7 separate regions of the Homo sapiens genome follow, and all the other regions are linked to region 1. The links are contacts of gene promoters, found by promoter capture Hi-C in blood cells and fetal thymus (Javierre and others, 2016). All regions are on one chromosome and are shown on one strand. The core of a region is centred on a gene start or on the middle of the fragment in contact, and the rest is flanking DNA. Distances in the headings are between cores, read along the strand shown.

Region 1 (2,752 bases), core at 69-2,568:
ATTCTCCCCAGTTGCACTCCACCCACTTATGTCTATCACTTAGCTCAAAGCCAGTAAAGCTCATCTCTGAACTAGCAAAGATTCCCTTTATCCCATCAAAATGTCCTTAACATCTATCTTGAGGTCATGCAGCATGATCTTACTTTGCTGGCATTCTTTCCTTCTTCTGTGGATTCCCAAGCAGAGTACAGATGTACAGATTCCTTGGGGGATAAGAGCTGGAATTTCAGCTTCTTTTTTTTTTTTTTTTTTTTGAGACGGAGTCTCGTCTGTTGCCAGGCTGGAGTGCGGTGGTGCAATCTCTGCTCACTGCAACCTCCGACTCCCTGGTTCAAGCTATTCTCCTGCCTCAGCCTCCCAGGCAGCTGAATTACAGGCACACACCACCACGCCCAGCTAATTTTTGTATTTTTAGTAGAGACAGGGTTTCACCATGTTGGCCAGGACGGTCTCGATCTCCTGACCTCATGATTTACCTGCCTTGGCCTCCCAAAGTGCTGGGATTACAGGCATGAGCCACCGCACCCGGCCTCACCTTCTTTTATATCCCACACAGCACCCAGCACAGAGCACAAAGCTAAGCGCATCGATCCAGCGACTGACTGACTGAATAAATGAATACATGCTATCTTGCTTGTAGAAGCCCAGATTCCTCCTTCTTACGACTCCCACACCCACTTAGGAGATTCTATTATGTCTTAAAAGAAGTTACATCTCCATTAGTGTCAAAGCAACATTATATAAGTGGCTCAACATGATCAGGCATGAATTTCTTTGTTTTCCCACTCACCTGAAAGCCCAAAAACAATCCAGGTGGTGGTAAACACTTCTGATCCTTCAAAGAAAACGGAAGAAAGCGATCCCTACCGTCTATTTTGAATCTACCGTTTTTTGTTTTTGAGTGTCTTTTAAATCTATTCAAAATCCTTTAAGGGCATTTCACCATGCATGGGAGAAGGTCATGGATCCTCAACAAATTGCAAGAGGCCTTTCACAGGCTAGACTCTGCCTTGTTCTCCAAGCTCACCTTCCATAATCCTGATGTGCTCCATATTGCCAGACTCTTTCAAGTCCTTCCCCGCCCTGCGGAGAATCCCTACTCACACCTCAGGACCAGCTCAGACATGGTCTCCAGGAGACCTTTTCTAAGATCCTATGTGAGGTAACTAGCCCCCTTGGCACCTTGTGACATAATTATTCACTTCCATGTACATGTCCCGTAGTGAACTATGAGCACCTCCAGACCTTACCCTGCGTTTGGTCGCCTTGCTCTCCTCTCTGCAGCTGGCACCCAATCTTTCCAGGCTGTCTCTAGGGACTCGAGCCCTTGGGATGGGGTCCTCAATGCTTTTCCACCTGCCTGGCTTCTAAATTCCACTAAGATCCTGTCCCATTCTCTTGGAAACACTAGAACTTACTCTGACATGCCCTATGGAAGTTATTTCTCCACTGCTGTTCAAACCCACTCCCAGACCTGGCCTTCCCTGAGGAGAGCGTCTCAGCCAAATCCAACTGCCTCTAGCTCAAGTTTCCTTGCGGGGGGCCCGCTGGCCTCATCCTGTTAGGTCGTCTTAGAGCCACAGGAGAATCAATGTTCCAGTGTCAGCAGGAAGAATCAATGTTCCAGTGTCAGCCAGCAGGGGGCAGTGTGAAAATACACACACCAGGCCCTTTTTTCAAAGGGTCTCGGCTTCCCTGAGGGTGTCTATCTGTGCCTCTATGAAGCATGGCTTGGGTCATTCCTCCAGTCCCATGGCCAGGTGGATCCTTCGTTTACCTTTCATTTCTATTAAATGAGAACATTCTCAATTCACTAACTGGATTGTTGGAAAGGCAGCAAGCTCTGCTAGATAGTTCTAAATATTTGCATCAAATATGGACCAGAAATTGTGAATCTGTCTTTCAACGCCCTCGGATCTGAGTCAGCAAGGCTGCCACGTGCAAAAGTAGGAACGTTAAATACTTGAAGCTGGGAGAGAATAAGTGGGTTTCTAATCCTCTCTGGTGCATTCAGTTCTAGAAAGTGGTTCTTTGTATTCTACTGGAACATTTCTATGTATGGTTTTTTTGTTGTTTGTTTGTTTGTTTTTTGAGACAGAGTCTCCCTCTGTTGCTCAGGCTGGAGCACAGTGGCACAATTTCAGCTCACCACAACCTCTGTCTCCCGGGTTCAAGGAATTCTCCTGCCTGAGCCTCCCGAGTAGCTGAGATTACAGGCACGTGCCACCACGCCCAGCTAATTTTTGTATTTTTGGTAGAGGCAGGGTTTCACTATGTTGGCCAGGCTGGTGTATGTATGTTTTAAACATGCTTTAAAACAAAATTTCTTTTTAGAGATGGGATCTTGCTATGTTGCCCAGGCTGGAGTGCAGTGGCTATTCACAGGTGTGATCATGGCGCACTGAAGCCTAGAACTACTAGGCTCAAGCAATCCTCCCACCCTAGCCTCCCACGTAATTGAGACTACAGGTATACACCACCATGCCCGGCCTTAAACATGCTTTTAAATGTGTCATAAATCACATTTCTCTGATGAATAAAAAGAATTATCTAATGTTGAGAAAGAGTCAGTGTTTAATCATTTACCTCACAGTGCAGATTTCTTAATAAATTCTGTTATTGAATCTACAGAATTTAACATTATGTTATTTTTGGCCCTGAAGGCATAACTTCAAGCCATTCTGGATACTGAATGTGTTGCTGACATACACATTAGCAAATCACTCAGAAGCATATACACTTTATTGCATTA
Region 2 (2,752 bases), core at 77-2,576, 480 kb before region 1:
CTTCTTGGGTTTTTCAGTGACTGTAACATATTTGTCTTTTTATGCTCAGCAGCCAGCGCAGTGCTCGCTTCTTGAAGTGGTTCAGTGAATGTTGAGTTAGTGGATGAAAACATGCATCAACAAATGAGTAAGCAAATGAATGCCTGAAGGACTGTGCACCTCTGAGTGTCACTGAGGGTTACAGTATATGTCTGTGTCCCAAGGTGTCAGCCCTTCTGCAAGAGATGATTGGAGAGGGCTTTCATTCATCCCAAGGAGCATAGTCTGTCTAGGGCAGGGGTGGGGCCCTTTCTCCTAGGAGGAACGCTTTGAGAGGCACGAACACGGAGCTGGATCAGAGGAGTACGTGCCCCTGCTGTCAGCGTGGGGGTGACTGGCCCATGGAATAGAACTTATCTCCAATGTATGCCATGAGCCCTACCTAGGAATCCCTTCCTTAGGGGTGGTCCCTACCTCCATGTAGATGGACCTGTGTAGGAATAGCGTTGCCTGGTAGTGGGTGAATAAATCTGCTTAAGCATGGGGCTCAGTTAATAGGCTCATGTCTCATCAGGCTTGGGATTTAGCAGAGAGTTTGGAGCCTAGCACACTGGATTTTCACCTCAAGGAAGATGCTGCCGCATACTATGTAGGTGGATTTTTTTCCCCAAAGCAACTGTGGCGGAGGCAAAGATTGGTCTATAAGTGCATGAAGACGGCATAATTGGTGACCACATTTCACTCCTCTGTAGTAATATTATACATCCATACCCCTTCCATAGCCTCATGGTGGGAACAATAATTGTCTTTGCCCCTTGACATTGAGCTTGGCCATATGACTTGCTTTGGCCAAGGGGATGTTGGCAGATGTGACAAAAGCAGGAGCTTGAATTTGCTTGTGTGATTGGGTTCGTGTTCTTGTGCTTCTGCCATCACCACAAAAATACCATATTTCAGGTTGCCATTGCATCTTCATGTCAGACACCAAAATGAGACATCTGCAGTGAAGCTATGCCAAGCAATCTGCAGACATATGAACGAGAAATAAATGTTTCTAGCTGCATGTCACTGAGATATCAACGGAGTTTGTTATGTAGCAAAAGCTGATTGATACAAGGCAAAATGAGTTTTTTAAATTTCAGGCTTTTTGACACTGACAGTTGAGGAAATTATTTACTGCCTTTAAATTTGCAAGGCAGCAGTTACTAAAGCTTAATATACATATAGCCTGTGATCTAGAAATGTCTATGGGGGGGACATTCAGCTTATGTCCCCCCCATAGACATGTATAAAAATATTCATAGCAGCTTCGGCCATAATACTTAACCTGGAAATAACTCAGATGTCCTCCAGTACAGCACAGAAGGCCAAGGAGGGAATGGGAGTGAGAAAGTAGAGGCAGGAAGTTGTTGCGGATGCAAAAAGAGATGAAAGAACAAATGGGAGTGGACTCTTTCTGATGGAAGAGGTTTGAGTGTGTTTATAAGCTTTGAGAAAAGATTCAATAAGGAGGTAGAAGTTGAAGGTTCAGGAGGAGGTGCAGAGGGATGGAGTAAGATGTTCGATAGGTAGCAGGGCGTGGTATTCTAAGCCCAGTTGCAGCAGTTTGCTTCAGAGAGAAAACTAGAACAGAGGGTAGGAAGATGAAGATGTTTGTAGGTTGTTGGGTTCAGAAATCCAGAAGGGTCCTGCCTGATGTGGGTGTTGGGGAGTTATGGGAATTAAAAAGAATAATAAGATTTTGTAATAACCATTGTGGGAAATGAGAAAGGGGCCAGTAAGATTGTCCAGGGGCAAATATGATTGCTAAACAGTTTCAAAAGTCCAGCTGAGAGGTTGGAGACCAGGAAATTGTGATGCTTTCTAACAAGATTCAGCAACCTGGATATGGGAACCAAGAAATTAAGAGATTTCTTAATCTCTTAATTAAGAGATTTAAGAGATGTCTTAAATTAAGAGATTAAGAAATTAAGAGATTTCCACCCCCACTTGGCAGTCATTAATTCAGGGCCATCATTTAAGAAGGGCCCAAGGGTTACATTTAAGGGCTAAGACATAGGGAAATTTTGTGGGCTGTTTGACATATCTGCCACCGGTGTGGTGTGTTTAAGGAAGAGGTTGAACGAAGGTGGCAGCATTCATTGCAGAAAGAGTAGCACCCATATCTACCAGGAGTCAATGAGGTTGACCATCTATATTTATAATAGTTAATTTGCCTTAGATGTTTAAGGGTAAGGCAGGCTATTGAGTACTTTTTCTTTCCTTAGAGAACCCTCATTCATCTAAATTGAGATACTTTTTTTTTTTTCAAATGGGATGATTTTTCCAGTGTCCCTTCTGTTCATGATATCTAAATATATCCTCATTAGTACAGGTGACCAGTTTGGAAGTGAGCCATCTATAGCTCTTTGATCTGCAGGGCTGTAACAGTTGGATTCTCCCATTGTCCCTCTCCTGGCGGAACAGAACCAACAGGATATATATGTGTGTGTGTATATATATATATACCTGTTGGGTCTGGGTCTGTTTCTCTGTATATATATATATATATATATATATATATATATATATATATATATATATATTTATAAAATATTTTTTTCTTTATTTTTCTGTATTTTAAGGAATTGACTCACTCAATTGTGGGGGCTGCCAAGTCTGAAATCTGTAGGGCAGGCTGCAGGCTGGAAACTCAGGCAGAATTTCCGTTCCAGTTTTGAGGCAGAATTCCTTCCTCTCTGGAAAATCTCAGTATGTGCTCGTAGGGCCTCTT
Region 3 (2,752 bases), core at 122-2,621, 460 kb before region 1:
TGCTCAGGAAGGACTTGTTAACCTAGAGAATTAAATTTAGGATGCAACATGAGTTTTCACTCATATATATTCCCATTTCCATCCAGCAATTTCATTTTTGAGCCAGATACCTCCTGATGAGAATAATGTGTCAAGGAGGCCTGCATAAATAAAAGTCATGAATGATAGCCAAACCTCTTCTTAAAAATTAGATTCCATCTTTCCCCCCAGCAAAATGTTCAGTGGAACTGCTCACATGGAGGAAAATCAACTGGCTTGAGTTTCTCCTCTGCCACTCTGGAGCAACCCTCTTGGGACATTTATGTTTTAAAAACATATTCTTATCTCAAAATCTTCTCTATCCCCTGTTGCCAACCCCTCATACCACTGGTCCTCAGCTCCTGGGTGCTTGCCCCTTGCAGTCAAGGCCAGGGCTCCTGAAGCCTTTGTGGGTTTGGCAGGCTGTTCAGGTATTTCATTCCCACCCCACTGCCCACCGCCCCCATGCCAACCCATGTGGGGAGCTTTCAAAATTGCTTCTTAGCTGACCTTCCCAACGAAAGATAGCCCACTGGCCTGAGACCTGCTGTGAGTGAGGGGTCAAGAGAGAGACAGGCCCTCCTCTGCAAGAATATCTGTCTTCTTCTCTCTTAAGCTTGACATCTTGAAGCCATATTCACTCCTGGGAAACAACTGAGGGCCTTGATTTTTCTATTGTCATCTTTTTAAAAAAATTGGTTCATGGGAGGTGAAAGCCTTAGATAGAAAAACTCAAAACAGTGCCTAGAACAACCCACTGCACGTTCTCAAAAACACTAGTGATCTGCCTGCAGCTTAATTTTTTTGATAATACACAACAGAGCTGTCTGCATTTTTTCCCACTCAATTGAGTGACTTTTTGATGGATTTGACTGGTTGTTTTGGCATCGCGTAGGCACAAACTCGAGCTGGGGCTCCACAGAGGCGGCGAAATCAGACATGAATAATAATCATAATAAACCTTCAAAACATTTGAAAGTTTCCAAAGTGCTTTCCTGCACATTTACCTCGTTCCATCCTAAAGCGCTCTGCGACATAGACAGAATTGGTATTACGGCGCCCATTGTGCCTGTGGGGGACAGAGAGGACCAGAGATGGGTGCTGGCTTTTCCTGGCCCTGATCAGAACTAGACTCCTCATCCAGGGCTCTTTCCACACTGGGAGAGAGTGAGAGAGAGGATATCTAGTGGGGCCTGCAGGGCAGGAGGCTGGGGCAGAGACTCTTCAGAATGTTAGCTTGGGTAGGGTCAGCAGGGTTCAGGGAATCAGGTTCTGAAGAGGAAAGCAAGCAGCAGGCACTGGACACCAGCCTGCCACCAAGACCCTGATGAGATGTGTGAGCTGGCATTAGGGCTTGCAGAGCACCACATGTGAAAAGGTCTGCAGGGCACCTTACCTCGTCATCTCCTAGGGCTAGTGTCAGGCATAGCTGTGAGGTGGGCACATTTCATCTCCAGTCCCCCTTCTGGGCTCCCTGCTCTAGTGGGCTGGCCTTTCTACCAGCTCCATTGGCCCCAGGCACATCTCCTGCTCATCCTTGGCCCCAGGCTCCCTTGCTCTGGCCCACTGTTTCCATCTGCCTTATCCCCAGGGGAGCTCCCTGTCCCATCTCCCTCTTCCTGGGATCCAGCTCTCTTTGCTTGTGGATGTAACAAGCTGCTTGCCAGAGAACATCTCCCCAGGCCCCTGGGTAAAATCCATCTGTTTTTACAGGAGCCTTATCAGGATGGTACTGCCTCTCAGCTTGGCCCAAGCTGTCATCCTGAGATGTGCACTTCCCATTGACCTTTCCTTGGAGGACTTGCTCAAATCCTGCTTCCTCCAGGAAGTCTTTGTTGATTGCTCTGGTCCACGCTGATCTTGGGCTTTTATGACCTACTGAGAAGCTGGATTGATGGGGTTGTGGTCCCCTGCTTCTTCTTTATATTAATCCTCCTCCTTCCCCCTCCTCTTCTTCCTCCTTTAAGAAGTAGTAGTGGTTTCTTTGTTTGCACTTATGGCCTGTGAAAAAGAAAACACTATGCTTGACTTCCTCCCTTCCTCCCTCCTTCATTTTAACAAATGTGAGGTCCTTCATTATATTCCAATAAGAAGCTTAAATATTTTCACTTAATGAGAGATCATACTTATTTAAGCAACCAAATGACCATCTTTCCCAGTATAATTGCAAAAGATCATTAGTTAATTCTTCTTGTAGCTGCTGCTTTGTATGTCAGTCCACTGACCAGGAGTTCTGTTCCAGGAGAAGGTCTCTCCAGAGTCTCTCTGCCCATTCCCTTCAACTCCTACACACCCTTCCATCCTTAGCTGACTGCCATCTTCACCTTTTCACTCTGCCTTTTCTAGCCTAGTTTCTAGGCAAACAAATATTCTTACAGCGTTGGGTTTTTCCTGGAAAGTTCCCTTGACTTTCTTGCCTTGAATAAAATGTCACTTTTCATCAAACATAGAGCTGTGTTGGGTTCCAAGTATCAGTTTTATACCATCACTTTATAACACCCTTGAAAAAAATTCTTTCCTTGTGATACATGCCACCTGCTGTCTCTCCTCATCATTAGAAAGCACATATTTCTGGTCACTTTCCCTGTTGAGGGGTCTCAAAATTCTTGTCCCCATTGTCTCTTCACCAATATTATCCTCAAAATGTCTAACATCAAATCAACCCAACCACCCACTCCACTCCTGCACCTGCATTGCTAGGCTGTAGGAGAATATCACACAAAGGTAGGGATTC
Region 4 (2,752 bases), core at 155-2,654, 470 kb after region 1:
CTCCTGGATTCAAGCGGTGCCTCAACCTCACGAGTAGTTGGGATTATAGGCACTGCCACCACACCCAGCTAATTTTCGTATTTTTAGTAGAGACAGGGTTTTGCCGTGTCGGCTAGGCCAGTCTTGAACCCCCGACCTCAAGTGATCTGCCCATCTCGGCTTCCCAACATATTAGGATTACAGGCATGAGCCAGCGTGCCCGGTCGCTTGGCTTTTTCATGTCACCCCCGAGGTGGCCCCATTCTGGGTGGGGGAGTTACTCTTGGGTTTGGGTCTCCCTGCCCCTGAACATAGCTGTTGCACAAGTAGCTGCTCACACTGAACTCTACAGAGCCATCAGTCAACCTTGAGGGATTGTTATCTGACCAAAGACTTTCTATCTGTCCATTATTTATTGCTGCAAACATACCGGAAAGCAAGGAAGCCATAAAAAGCAAACAGTAGGGTCATGTCAAAATGAGGCAGAGCCAGCAAGAAGAGGCTCCTAAACATGGGACATTTTGAACATCAGTAAGGGTAATAACTGCAGTTGATGGAAACACATTGATTATATTTAAGTACATGAATTCATAATAATACCTAAATTCATGTTATCAGTATTGGAGGATGTGGGCAAACCAACTCTATTTATAAAACTAGTTAATGAAAGGAAAGAAGCATGTTTCCTGCCTTTTCTAAATAAACTGTACCATTGGTGTTAAATATCTGGTTTCTAAAAAATGTTATTTTAATATATAGAGATAGGATCTTGCTATGTTGGCCAGGCTAGTCTCAGATTCCTGGCCTCAAGCAGTCCTCCTGCCTTGGCCTCCCAAAATGCTGGGATTACAGGCATGAGTCAGTGTGCCCAACCAGTCATTTCAATAAATGTGCTGGATCAATTGTATATTCATGTGAAAAATTACCTCACATCATAACAACAACAACAACAAAAATCCAGATGGATTTTTAAATCCATCTAAATGTGAAAGGTAAAGCAATAAAGCTTTTGAAGAAAACATAGGAGACCACCTTCATGACCTCAGAGTAGGCAAAGATTTCTTAAACACGACACAAAAAGGCTCACTATAAAAGAAAAAAATTGATAAATTAGACTAAAGGGCCACTGTATTAGATACCTTGAGTGATTGCAAAACCTGGTTCTTGTCCTTATGAAGTTCATAATAAAGCCGATTGTTTTCTTTTTCTTTCTTTTTTTGTTAAGAGCAGAGTTTTAAAAGCTGGCTGTCCTCCCTGTTCTGCTCTCCCTAGGTGGTAGACTACCTACCCCTCAGGCATCCTGCTGTTAATTCGCTGAGTTCCCAGAGAGCAGGGCTCCCCAACAAATAGCTGATCTTTCTCCCTTGCCTGGCCTAGATCGGCCTCTGTTTAGAGAGGTGGTTTGGTGGTTGAAGAATGAGAACAGGGTGGGAGGGGGACAAACAGGCCTCTTCTGTGTCATTGACAGCTGATTTTTGTTTGTCAGCGTGCTAAGGTTGTGAAGTTGCCAATCCGTGATGATTAAGATTCTGTTGGGGTCCTTTGGAGAGGAGAGAGGTGGTGGCTTCTGAGAACATAACCAGAAGGCTTTTAGGGAAATGGAAAAGTCATAGTACGGAGCTTCAGCCTAGTCATTCACTGAGCTCAGAAGTGCTCCTCCTCACCCCTCCTCTCCCTTCCTTTTCCTTTCTTTACTAGCTGGGATTGTTCTTTCATTTATTCATAAAAATAAGGTACAAAAACAAATAATGCCTTGCCGTTGTTATTAAGAGAGACATTTAAAATGGATCATTGAAATACTATGTGGGAAGGCTTATTCATAGTTAATTATTAATGACACTTATCAAAGCTTGTCCTGGACCAAGTATTGTGACTGTCTCTTTATTTGCACCATTTCATTTCATCGTCATAGCATCCTTATGAGCTAAATATTATTCTACGTATTTAATAGGTTATGCTATTGAGGCTTATAAAGATTTAGCAACTTGGTCAACTATATTGTTAAGGGTCTCAAGACAATCCTCTTTACAGGTCCAAGCCCATCAATCAAATGTCATTTGGCAATAACTCTTTCTTATTTTGTTATCAATGTGTCACCCAAATTATTTGGAGCCTGAGGCCTTAATTAAAAATCTGGCTGGTGTGATTATAATGTGGCTGAGTGCTGATGCCAAATTTAAAGTCAGAGTGTGATTTTTTTAAGCTATGTATTTCAGAAGGATTGATGGTGGCTACTTGCCTTGTGCTCCAGAGCAGCACCCCCTTGATGGCAAGCCACTCCAAGAATGTTTAGGGCCGTAGCTGGCTGGTCCCCAATAGAGAAAACCCAATGGCTGTGTTTCTGGAGCGACCCAAGGCACAGGATACAAACCTGTCCATGCCACAATTATTGCATCTACTAGGACGCACTGATTAAAATTCTGTTTTCCCCTGAGAAGACATTTATTTCTCAATAAATTCAGGAAACCATTTGACAACATCCAGTACTCTTTAATGATAAGAACACTCAACACGCTGGAAAGAGAAGGGAACTTCCTCAACCTCATAAAGGATATTTATATAAAAGCCACAGCAAATGTCATACTTAATGGTGACTGACTGCTTTTGCTCTAAGACTAGGAACAAGAGAAGGATGTCTACTTTCACTGCTTCTATTCAACATTGTACTGAAGGTTCTAACTAGAGGAATCAGGGAAGAAAAAAAATCATAAGTCATCTAGATAAAAGGAAGAAGTAAACCCATTTGTATTTGCAGATGACATGAACTTGTATA
Region 5 (2,752 bases), core at 81-2,580, 440 kb after region 1:
CAATTAGGACAAGCAGAGGTCATTCTCATTGCTATCTTGATTTTGGAGGGGTTTGGCCAGCTTCTTTACTGCAGTTGTTTTCTCAGCAAGGTCTTTATGACCTGTATCTTGTGTGACCTCCTATCTCATCCTGTGACTTAGAATACCTAACCGTCTGGGAATGCAGACCCTGTAGATCTCAGCCTCATTTTACCCAGCTCCTATTCAGGATGGAGTTGCTCTAGCTCAAATGCCTCTGACATTTCCCCCATCACTTTTATAAGAGAACCCTTAATCCTAAGGGTTGCAGAGGGACGAAGATCCATCCTCTGTAACTTCTTCAGGCTGATTAGGGGCAATGATATTCCTGCCTACCTATCGAGGTCTCTTGTATTCAGGGTAGAGAGGAGCTCAGTCAGAAAGTGTCAGTATGGTTAGGGCTATTCACAGCTCGGACACAAAGTGATATCTGGAAGATTTTGTAAGTGTTTAAGAGAACATTGAGTAAGCTTATCCTGCATTCCTACACAAATAGTACAACTATTCCATATCAGTAAAGCAAAATAAGCAAAACTATCCCAAGTAAACTAAAGAAGGCTTTCCATGAACTGGGTAATTGTTGGAACCAAGCTGATACGGGGTCGGTAGCTGATTGCAATATGTTCCCAGAATTAGAATACTGATTCAGATTTTTACATCACCAATCCCTCTTGTTTCTTCTGAGCTGCAGCCAGAGATCACTGGTTGGTTCACAGGAACAAGCAGTCTAAATTGCAGAAAAAAACCAAAGTCAGCCAATCAGTGCTGCAGTCTATTTCCTTTGGGTTGGGGGTCTCCTCAGTATTGTCCCTTTGGGGTTCACCAGAAAGATGTTACCAGAAAGGGGTCCAGACCCGGACCCCAAGAGAGTGTTATTGGATCTCATACAAGAAGGAGTTTGGGGCGAGTCTGTGGAGGAAAGTGAAAGCAAGTCTATTAAGAAAGTAAAGGAATAAAAGAATTGCTACTCTGTAGGCACAACAGGCAGCAAACTTTTTATTAAAGTTCCAAACAGTAAATATTTTAGGCTTTGGGGACCATAGGGTCTCTTGCAGTTACAGTCATGCATCGTTTAACCATGGGCTATGTTCTCGGAAATGCATTGTTGTCATTTTGTCATTGTGCAAACATTGTAGAGTGTACTTATGCAGACCTAGATGGTATAGCCTCCTACACACCTAGGCTATAATGTGTAGTCTATTTCTCTTAGAGTACAAACCTGTACAGCATGTTACCTTACTAAATAAATACTGTAGGCAATTATAACACAATGGTAAGTATTTGTGTATCTAAACATAGAAAAGGTACTATATGGTAATTAGTAAATCTTATGGTATTATAATCTATGGGTATTATAACCTTAGGGAACTGTTGTTGTGTATGTGGTGTGTTGTTGACGAGAACCTCGTTGTTCAGAGCATGACTGTACTCAGTTCTGCTGAGTTGTAGCTTGAAAGCAGCCATAGACAATATGTAAACAAATGGACATAACTGTGTTTGAATAAAACTTTATTTATAAAAACAAGCAGCTGGCCTGACCACTGTTTGCTGGCCCATGTTCTAGGAATAAAACATTCCTATCTGATGAACCATGTTCTAAGTTTAGTGTGGTCTGCATGATTATAAAATATTGCCTTCCTTTTACTGTTTGGGAGGAGTTATTTTTTCCTTGTGACTGTTTATCTGGGTAATGTTTTTCTCCCCTGGGCTTTGACATTGTGCACTGGTTAGCTGCTGGGAATAAATTAGCCAAAGAACCACTTAACATAGCTAAAGGAGGGCAAAGATAAATGCAGAACATAATTCATTTTTCTTTTCTCCTCCCACCTCAAACTAGGATTCTGCATGTTTGTACTGAGTCTGGTCAAGAAGCATTATCGACTGCAGTTCTACATGGTAAAGGAAATGCATGCGTGTGTGTCAGAATTCTTGATTTAAATGAAGTTTTTCAGGAACTCAACAAGCCTTTCATGCTTTCTGTGACAAATCAAAACTCAGGAACATGGTCTGATATGTATGCATCTAGAGCATGAAGGAAGAATGCCCATTTAGGTTTAATGGCTCTACGTTGACTTAGACCCAGTCACTGTTACTTACACCTTAAGCAGCCTCTCCACTAGGACCCTGAGGTGGGCTCCAGAGAAGGCACAAGCTGAAGCTTCAGACACTGCCCACAGATGTCCTGTCTGGTACATCACTTGCTACCACTTATTCCCTGACTCACTAGAGAACAGCTCCTCTCTGAGTGCTCCAGGTGCTCAATAACTACTAAGAAAATGAAAAATACCCAGGCTTTCAGAGCATGGGAGAGCTCACTCACTAGTGGGCTGTGGGGGACAAAGTATTACTCTCAGAAGCCTGATCTTACCTGTTCACTTTCAATAAGTCAGATACAAAAGCAGATATTTTTCCTACCTGCTTCTCAGCAGTTTTCTATTTGGTATTGATTGTTCTTTGAAGTTACTTTCAAGGTAAACTGGTAAGTAGTGTTTATTTTTCTTTTTTTTGCAGTTTGGCTGGACCCATGTGACATTGCTGATTGTTGTAACACAGTCACATCTTGTTATCCACAACCTATTTGAAGGAATGATCTGGTGAGAATTGGGAGTTGGATTTTCCCTTTTATTTTGTGAGTGTTTCTCGTGTACAGATACCCCCCTCTAAGCCAGTGGCCCTCACCTTGAGCCACATCAGAATCCTCTGCAGGGTTCATTATAGCACAGATTGCTGGACC
Region 6 (2,752 bases), core at 151-2,650, 390 kb after region 1:
ATATGTGTTTTACATCACTTACAGGGCAGTGAATAGAAAGAACAGGAAACACCAAAGGCAATGCTGGAGCAACACAAGTATTAATAAATGCAGGCAGGCAGTATAGTATGGTGGTTAGAGTGTGGGCTGGTAACAAACCTGTTTGTGTTCTAATTCTTACTAGGCACTTTCTAGCTGGGAGACCTTGGCTAAGGTCCTTTTAAAAGTTTTAAATCCATCCAACAAGTACTTACAATGGATGTGTCAAAGACATAGAGGATGCACAGTAAACAAAGTAGACAGCACTTCTGTCCCAAAAAAGGTCTTTCCATAGTCCAGAAGACAAATTTGAAAAACTGAGGAAGGGCCAGGCTCGGTGGCTCACGCCTGTAATCCCAGCACTTTGGAAGGCGGAGGCGGACGGATCACCTGAGGTCAGGAGTTCGAGACCAGCCTGACCAATATGGTGAAACCCCGTCTCTACTAAAAATACAAAAGTTAGCCGGGCGTGGTGGCGCGCACCTTGGAATTGTTTGCGCCCGGGAGGCAGAGGTTGCAGTGAGTCGAGATCATGCCACTGCACTCCAGCCTGGGCGACAGAGCGAGACTCCGTCACAAAACAAACAAACAAACGAACAAACAAACAAACCACTGAGGAAGATCTTAACTGTAAAATTCAAATCATACCCACTTCCAAGCCATGTGTGGATTAAACGAGATAAGCCAACTAAAGCGATTACTCAGCTCAGTGCCTAGTATACAATTAGTGCTTAACAAGTACTAGCGACCGCTTGGCAAAGCAAAGCAGACTGAAGCGTGGGTTTCATTTCTCATCATGTGATAAGTGATAAAATGCTCTTAACCAGGTCGGCTCACCTGGCCTTTCCATTCGACCTAAATAACGTCTACTTACTTGCGTAAGGGAAGAGCTCTGGCCCAGGTCAGCAAGCATTTGTCAGGCTAGAGCCTCCGGGTGGCGCTTCTCGCCCTCAGTAACCGGTTACCTCCAGAACCAGGGCGCCAGCTCCGGCCATCCGCGGTTAAGCGGGAGCTCCCATTGGCTAATCGCACACTGAAACGCACGCCTTTTCCCGCCCCTGACGCTGCCGTCCAATGCGCGCCTCTCGACTCTGCTCCGCCCCGCCCCGCCCCCGTCGCCCTGCCTCCCTGGCGTATTTGCGCCATTGGTGGATATTCCGGACCGTGATGGTGGCGCTGCGCGTGCGCACTCGCTCCGAGCCCTGCTCCCGGGAGAGGGAGCTCTCGGGTCGGGGCTAGGGAAGGCTGACCCCGCTCGGCCCGGGTGAAAGGGCGGTGACGGCACTGGGTGGGGCCGAGCTCCAGGGCTGGCTGCTGGGCTGCTAAGGGAACTGTGAGCCGCTCAGAGCCGCGCGCCTCCCGGGCGGGGCGGGGCCGGCCGTGGGAGTCCGCGCGTGCCCGCGCCGAGCTGCCTGCTCCGGCGGCTTCGCTGCTAGCTCGCGGCGACGTCGGGCCGATTTTCCCAGGATGACAGAGCTGAGGCAGAGGGTGGCCCATGAGCCGGTTGCGCCACCCGAGGACAAGGTAGCGGCAGCGTCGGGGTGGGCGCGGCCGGGACAGCGGCGCATCCGGGAGGCCTGCGGGGGACGCGCGCAGAGGGGTCGTCTTGTTCTCTGACCCTTTGTCGCAGCCGACGGCGGCCCCGGGCCCGGGTAGCGCGAAGGGCCCTCGGGTGCCCGGCCTTCGCGGCGCGCGCGTCAGGGGTCGGCGGGTCGGGGTCCCGGCTCAGGGTCTGACTGAAGTGGCTCCCCCGGGGCGCAGGAAGGAGCTTCTCGGGAGTGGCGCACGGCCTCCTGCCTCGCTGGGCTGGCTGCGGGGACTCCCCTCTCCCCCAACTCCGTGAGGCCTTCCTGGAGGTGAAGATATGCAGAGCCTTCTTAGGGAGGCGGCTCCTCTGAGCGCAACTTAGGCTCTCCGTTCCCTTTTACAATGTTATTATTTTGGGGGGTGGGGGAATCAGGACAAGGCCATAGCATTTGCCTCCTGGGAGATGTAAATCCCTTCTTGGGCATGAAATCATCGGCTTTGAGCAAAGGGGTGTTACCCAGTGAGCCAGTCCGTCATCAGCAGGTGTTGGAGGGCGTCCTCCCGGTTGATGGGTTGTTTCCTGCACCGTGTGGGCTCTGGTGGGTAGGGGAGGAGAGTAGGAAGGAGGCCATCTTGGCGGGGACAGTGGCGGGGGTGACGGGTGGGGGAGTGGACTCCTTTGGGTGAAGTGAAAGATCTGTGTAGGGGAGTTAAGGAAGGTAGGGATTGGTTTTATTACTGTGGAGGTTGAATGGCAGTATAGGACTTTGTAGCAGTAGTTGTGCTTTCCGAGATAGCAGTGATCAGGAGCCCTGTGTTTGGGAAACTGATCAGACAGTGATGTGTAGAAGGGACTGAGGGAGCCTGGACCAGACTGAGGGAGCCTGGTTCACTCGGGATTGCCCATGAGTGACCTGTAGATGTTTTCTTTGGCCCACATATTGCCTTAAAAATCAGAAAGTTTCTCCTAACAATCTAAATTTCTTGCCTGTCTTAGATAATTGGAGGGTCCACCATCACTTTGTCACCTGCTCAATGGTTGGCTGGAGCTGAGGATCATCGGTTCCCACCAATCCCTGTTGCCTTACACCAGGCTCACGGCTTCCCCTAATGCAGCCTGTAACTTTTTGATGACTGGACGCAACGGACATTAGGGAGACACCCAGAAGGAAGAAAGCACAAGATTTGGTGACAGGATGTCAACAGA
Region 7 (2,752 bases), core at 169-2,668, 300 kb after region 1:
TGTCCAGGCTGGAATGCCGTGACAAAGCCACGGCTCACTGCACCCTTGACCTCCTGGGCTCAAGCGATCCTCCCACCTCAGCCTCCTGAGTAGCTAGGACTACAGGCGCACTCTGCCACACCTGGCTAATTAAAAACAGTTATTTTGTAGAGATAGAGTCTTGCTATGTTGCCCAGGCTGGTCTTGAACTCCTGGGCTCAAGTGATATTCCTGCCTCGGTCTCTCACAGTGCTGGGGTTACAGGCATGAGCCACCATGGCCAGCTACTCCTGCCCTTTAGGTTTTGGCTCATTTCTCTTCCCCAGGGGAAACTGGGGCAGGATCATGGCAGGGCCTGGCATGCAACCCTTGCTGGCACAGCACTGTGGTAAGGGGCATGGGCTCTGAAGTTCAAGTGGAGAGAATACCCCTTATGAACTGGGTGTCCTTGGCCAGCACTTAACCTCTTTGTGCCTCAATGGCCCTCTATGAAGGATAACAGTAGACCTGTCTTGTAAGGTTATTGTGAAGTAAAACTTGTAGAATGGAGCTTGGCACAGAGTAAGCTTCAATCAATGTCAGCTCTTCATTACCCAACCTTGGCGCTGCATGACGAACACCTGTGGATGGTTAAAAACTGCACTGCAGGTTACTTCCCTCAGAGCCTCTGGGGTGGGACCCAGGCTTCCGTATTTTTTTTTAAGCCCCTTAGGTAATTTCATTGTGTGCACAGGGCTGAAAACTGCCTGAGGCTGCAGTCTCTCAAGTGCTAGTTCACACAGATATTTATTTATTTATTTTTTGAGACAGAGTTGCGCTCTTGTCATCCAGGCTGAAGTGCAATGGCGCAATTTTGGCTCACTGCAGTCTCCGCCTCCCAGGTTCAAGAGATTCTTCTTCCACAGCCTGCCGAATAGCTGGGATTACAGGTACGCGCCACCATGCCGGGCTAACTTTGTATTTTTAGTAGAGACGGGGTTTCACCATGTTTCACCATGTTGTCCAGGTTGCTCTCAAAATCCCGACCTCAGGTGATCCACCTACTTTGGCCTCCCAAAGTGCTGGGATTACAGGCATGAGCCACCATGCCCGGCCACACACAGATAAATTTAAACGTTCCCTACAGGTCTTTGTTGGGTCCTTTTGGAAGCAACTCCTGCCCCCGTGCCCCACAAAGGAGCATTTTCTTGTATGTGTCAGAATCATTTCTCTTTTCCCCTACCCCACTGCAAACCCCACCCAAGTTCAGAAGAAAAATACCTTCAAGAACTCTGACCAGATAGAGGAAAAGTGCATTGACTCAATCTACCTCCTTCCTCACTCCCTTCTTGGAGGAGGCCCCTTCCCAAAAGACCTTCCTGGAAAAATCTTCCTTTGGTGTCTCCAAGGAACTATGCTCTCCAGGGCACGCAACAACAGAGTAAGAATTCATCTACCACTAAAGACTGAATATAGTATGCAGTATAAAACTATTTAAAAGGGCCAGACGCGGTGGCTCATGCCTGTAATCCCAGCACTTTGGGAGGCCGAGGCGGGTGGATCACGAGGTTAGGGGTTCAAGACAAGCCTGGCCAAGATGGCAAAACCCCATCTCTACTAAAAATACAAAAATTAGCCGGGCATGGTGGCGGACACCTGTAATCCCAGCTACTCAGGAGGCTGAGACAGAGAATTGCTTGAACCCGGGAGGCAGAGGTTACGAGATCACACCACTGTATTCCAGCTTGGGCGACAGAGCAAGACTTCATCTCAAAAAAAAAAAAAAAACTTATTTAAAAGAAGGCGCCAGGCCAGGGTCGGTGGCTCACGCCTGTAAATCCCAGCACTTTGGGAGGCCAAGGTGGGGCAGATCACCTGAGGTCAGGAGTTCGAGACGAGCCTGGCCAACACGGTGAAACCCTGTCTCTACTAAAAATATAAAAATTAGCCAGATGTGGTGGTGCGTGCCTGTAATCCCAGCTACTCAGGAGGCTGAGGCAGGAGGATCACTTGAACCTGGGAGGCGGAGGTCGCAGTGAGCCGAGATCACGCCACTGCACTCCAGCCTGGGTGACACAGCAAGACTCCGTCTCATAAATAAATAAATAAGGCACCATAACAAAATACAGTTTATCCTAAACATGGTTTAATAGTTGGGAAGTTGGTCATATTATGTCTTTTTCCTAAATACATGCAGAGGTAAGAGACCTAACCCTGGGAGTGTGTTTGGAGGAATGAATGCTTTAAAATCAATCCCAGAATCGGTAAGTGTAATGCACAACAGTAACTGAATGACAGACAAAAACCACATGATCATCTTAGTCAATGCACAAAAAGCTTTTGAAAAAGTTCAACACGCTTTCATGATTAAAAAAAAAATGCAGCAAACTAGAAATAGAAGAAAACTACCACAATATGATAGCCATATATGAAAACCCCATAGTTAAATCATACTCAATGATGCAAGACAAACTTTTTCCTCGAAGATCAGGAACAAGACAAGAATGCCCACTTTCACCACTTCCATACCACGTAGTCTTGGAATTTCTAGATAGAGCAATTAGGCAAAAAGGAAGAAAAGGAAAGAAAAGAAAAAAGAAAAGGAAAAGGAGGGAATAGAAAGAAAAGAAGAAAGAAAGAAAATGCATCCAAATTGGAAAGGAAGAAGGAAAATTATTATTCATAGATTATATGATCTTAGAAAACCCTAAAGATTCCACAAAAAACCCTTTGGAACTACTAAACAAATTTGGCAAAGCAGCAGGACACAAAAGCAATACATGAAAATCAGTTG

The links. Contacts are between HindIII fragments. The CHiCAGO score rates a contact against its expected background, and 5 or more counts as called.
Region 2: a contact is called between a fragment that was not itself captured here and the fragment with the promoter of PRNT in region 1, in 4 of 17 cell types (M1 macrophages, M2 macrophages, megakaryocytes and 1 more). The highest score is 10.1, in M1 macrophages.
Region 3: a fragment that was not itself captured here is called in contact with the fragment with the promoter of PRNT in region 1 in 2 of 17 cell types (endothelial precursors and M1 macrophages); the score reaches 5.9 in endothelial precursors.
Region 4: a contact is called between a fragment that was not itself captured here and the fragment with the promoter of PRNT in region 1, in 3 of 17 cell types (naive CD4 T cells, activated CD4 T cells and total CD8 T cells). The highest score is 6.2, in naive CD4 T cells.
Region 5: a contact is called between a fragment that was not itself captured here and the fragment with the promoter of PRNT in region 1, in 2 of 17 cell types (naive B cells and activated CD4 T cells). The highest score is 6.7, in naive B cells.
Region 6: the fragment with the promoter of CDS2 here is called in contact with the fragment with the promoter of PRNT in region 1 in 1 of 17 cell types (naive CD4 T cells); the score reaches 5.0 in naive CD4 T cells.
Region 7: a fragment that was not itself captured here is called in contact with the fragment with the promoter of PRNT in region 1 in 2 of 17 cell types (endothelial precursors and activated CD4 T cells); the score reaches 6.2 in endothelial precursors.

What each region holds. Positions count from the first base shown.
Region 1 is chr20:4,739,350-4,742,101 of GRCh38, forward strand. It overlaps PRNT (prion locus lncRNA, testis expressed), which reads right to left and starts at 1,319. Exons shown (of 2, transcript NR_024269.1): 1 at 1,251-1,319. The HindIII fragment of the contact is 12,166 bases long and covers 1-2,752 here.
Region 2 is chr20:4,257,554-4,260,305 of GRCh38, forward strand. No RefSeq gene overlaps it. Among named protein-coding and RNA genes, the nearest start is that of ADRA1D, 9.6 kb to the left of the region's middle. The HindIII fragment of the contact is 276 bases long and covers 1,189-1,464 here.
Region 3 is chr20:4,276,793-4,279,544 of GRCh38, forward strand. No RefSeq gene overlaps it. Among named protein-coding and RNA genes, the nearest start is that of ADRA1D, 29 kb to the left of the region's middle. The HindIII fragment of the contact is 1,478 bases long and covers 633-2,110 here.
Region 4 is chr20:5,206,532-5,209,283 of GRCh38, forward strand. No RefSeq gene overlaps it. Among named protein-coding and RNA genes, the nearest start is that of CDS2, 81 kb to the left of the region's middle. The HindIII fragment of the contact is 843 bases long and covers 984-1,826 here.
Region 5 is chr20:5,180,532-5,183,283 of GRCh38, forward strand. It overlaps CDS2 (CDP-diacylglycerol synthase 2), which reads left to right. Exons shown (of 13, transcript NM_003818.4): 6 at 1,856-1,914; 7 at 2,530-2,612. Among named protein-coding and RNA genes, the nearest start is that of CDS2, 55 kb to the left of the region's middle. The HindIII fragment of the contact is 1,688 bases long and covers 487-2,174 here.
Region 6 is chr20:5,125,608-5,128,359 of GRCh38, forward strand. It overlaps CDS2 (CDP-diacylglycerol synthase 2), which reads left to right and starts at 1,401. Exons shown (of 13, transcript NM_003818.4): 1 at 1,401-1,542. The coding sequence starts at 1,486. It also overlaps a transcript of PCNA not described here. RefSeq lists a silencer at 890-1,809 and enhancers at 1,072-1,573, 2,150-2,239. The HindIII fragment of the contact is 13,373 bases long and covers 1-2,752 here.
Region 7 is chr20:5,043,674-5,046,425 of GRCh38, forward strand. No RefSeq gene overlaps it. Among named protein-coding and RNA genes, the nearest start is that of SLC23A2, 44 kb to the left of the region's middle. RefSeq lists a silencer at 1,566-1,785. The HindIII fragment of the contact is 1,750 bases long and covers 544-2,293 here.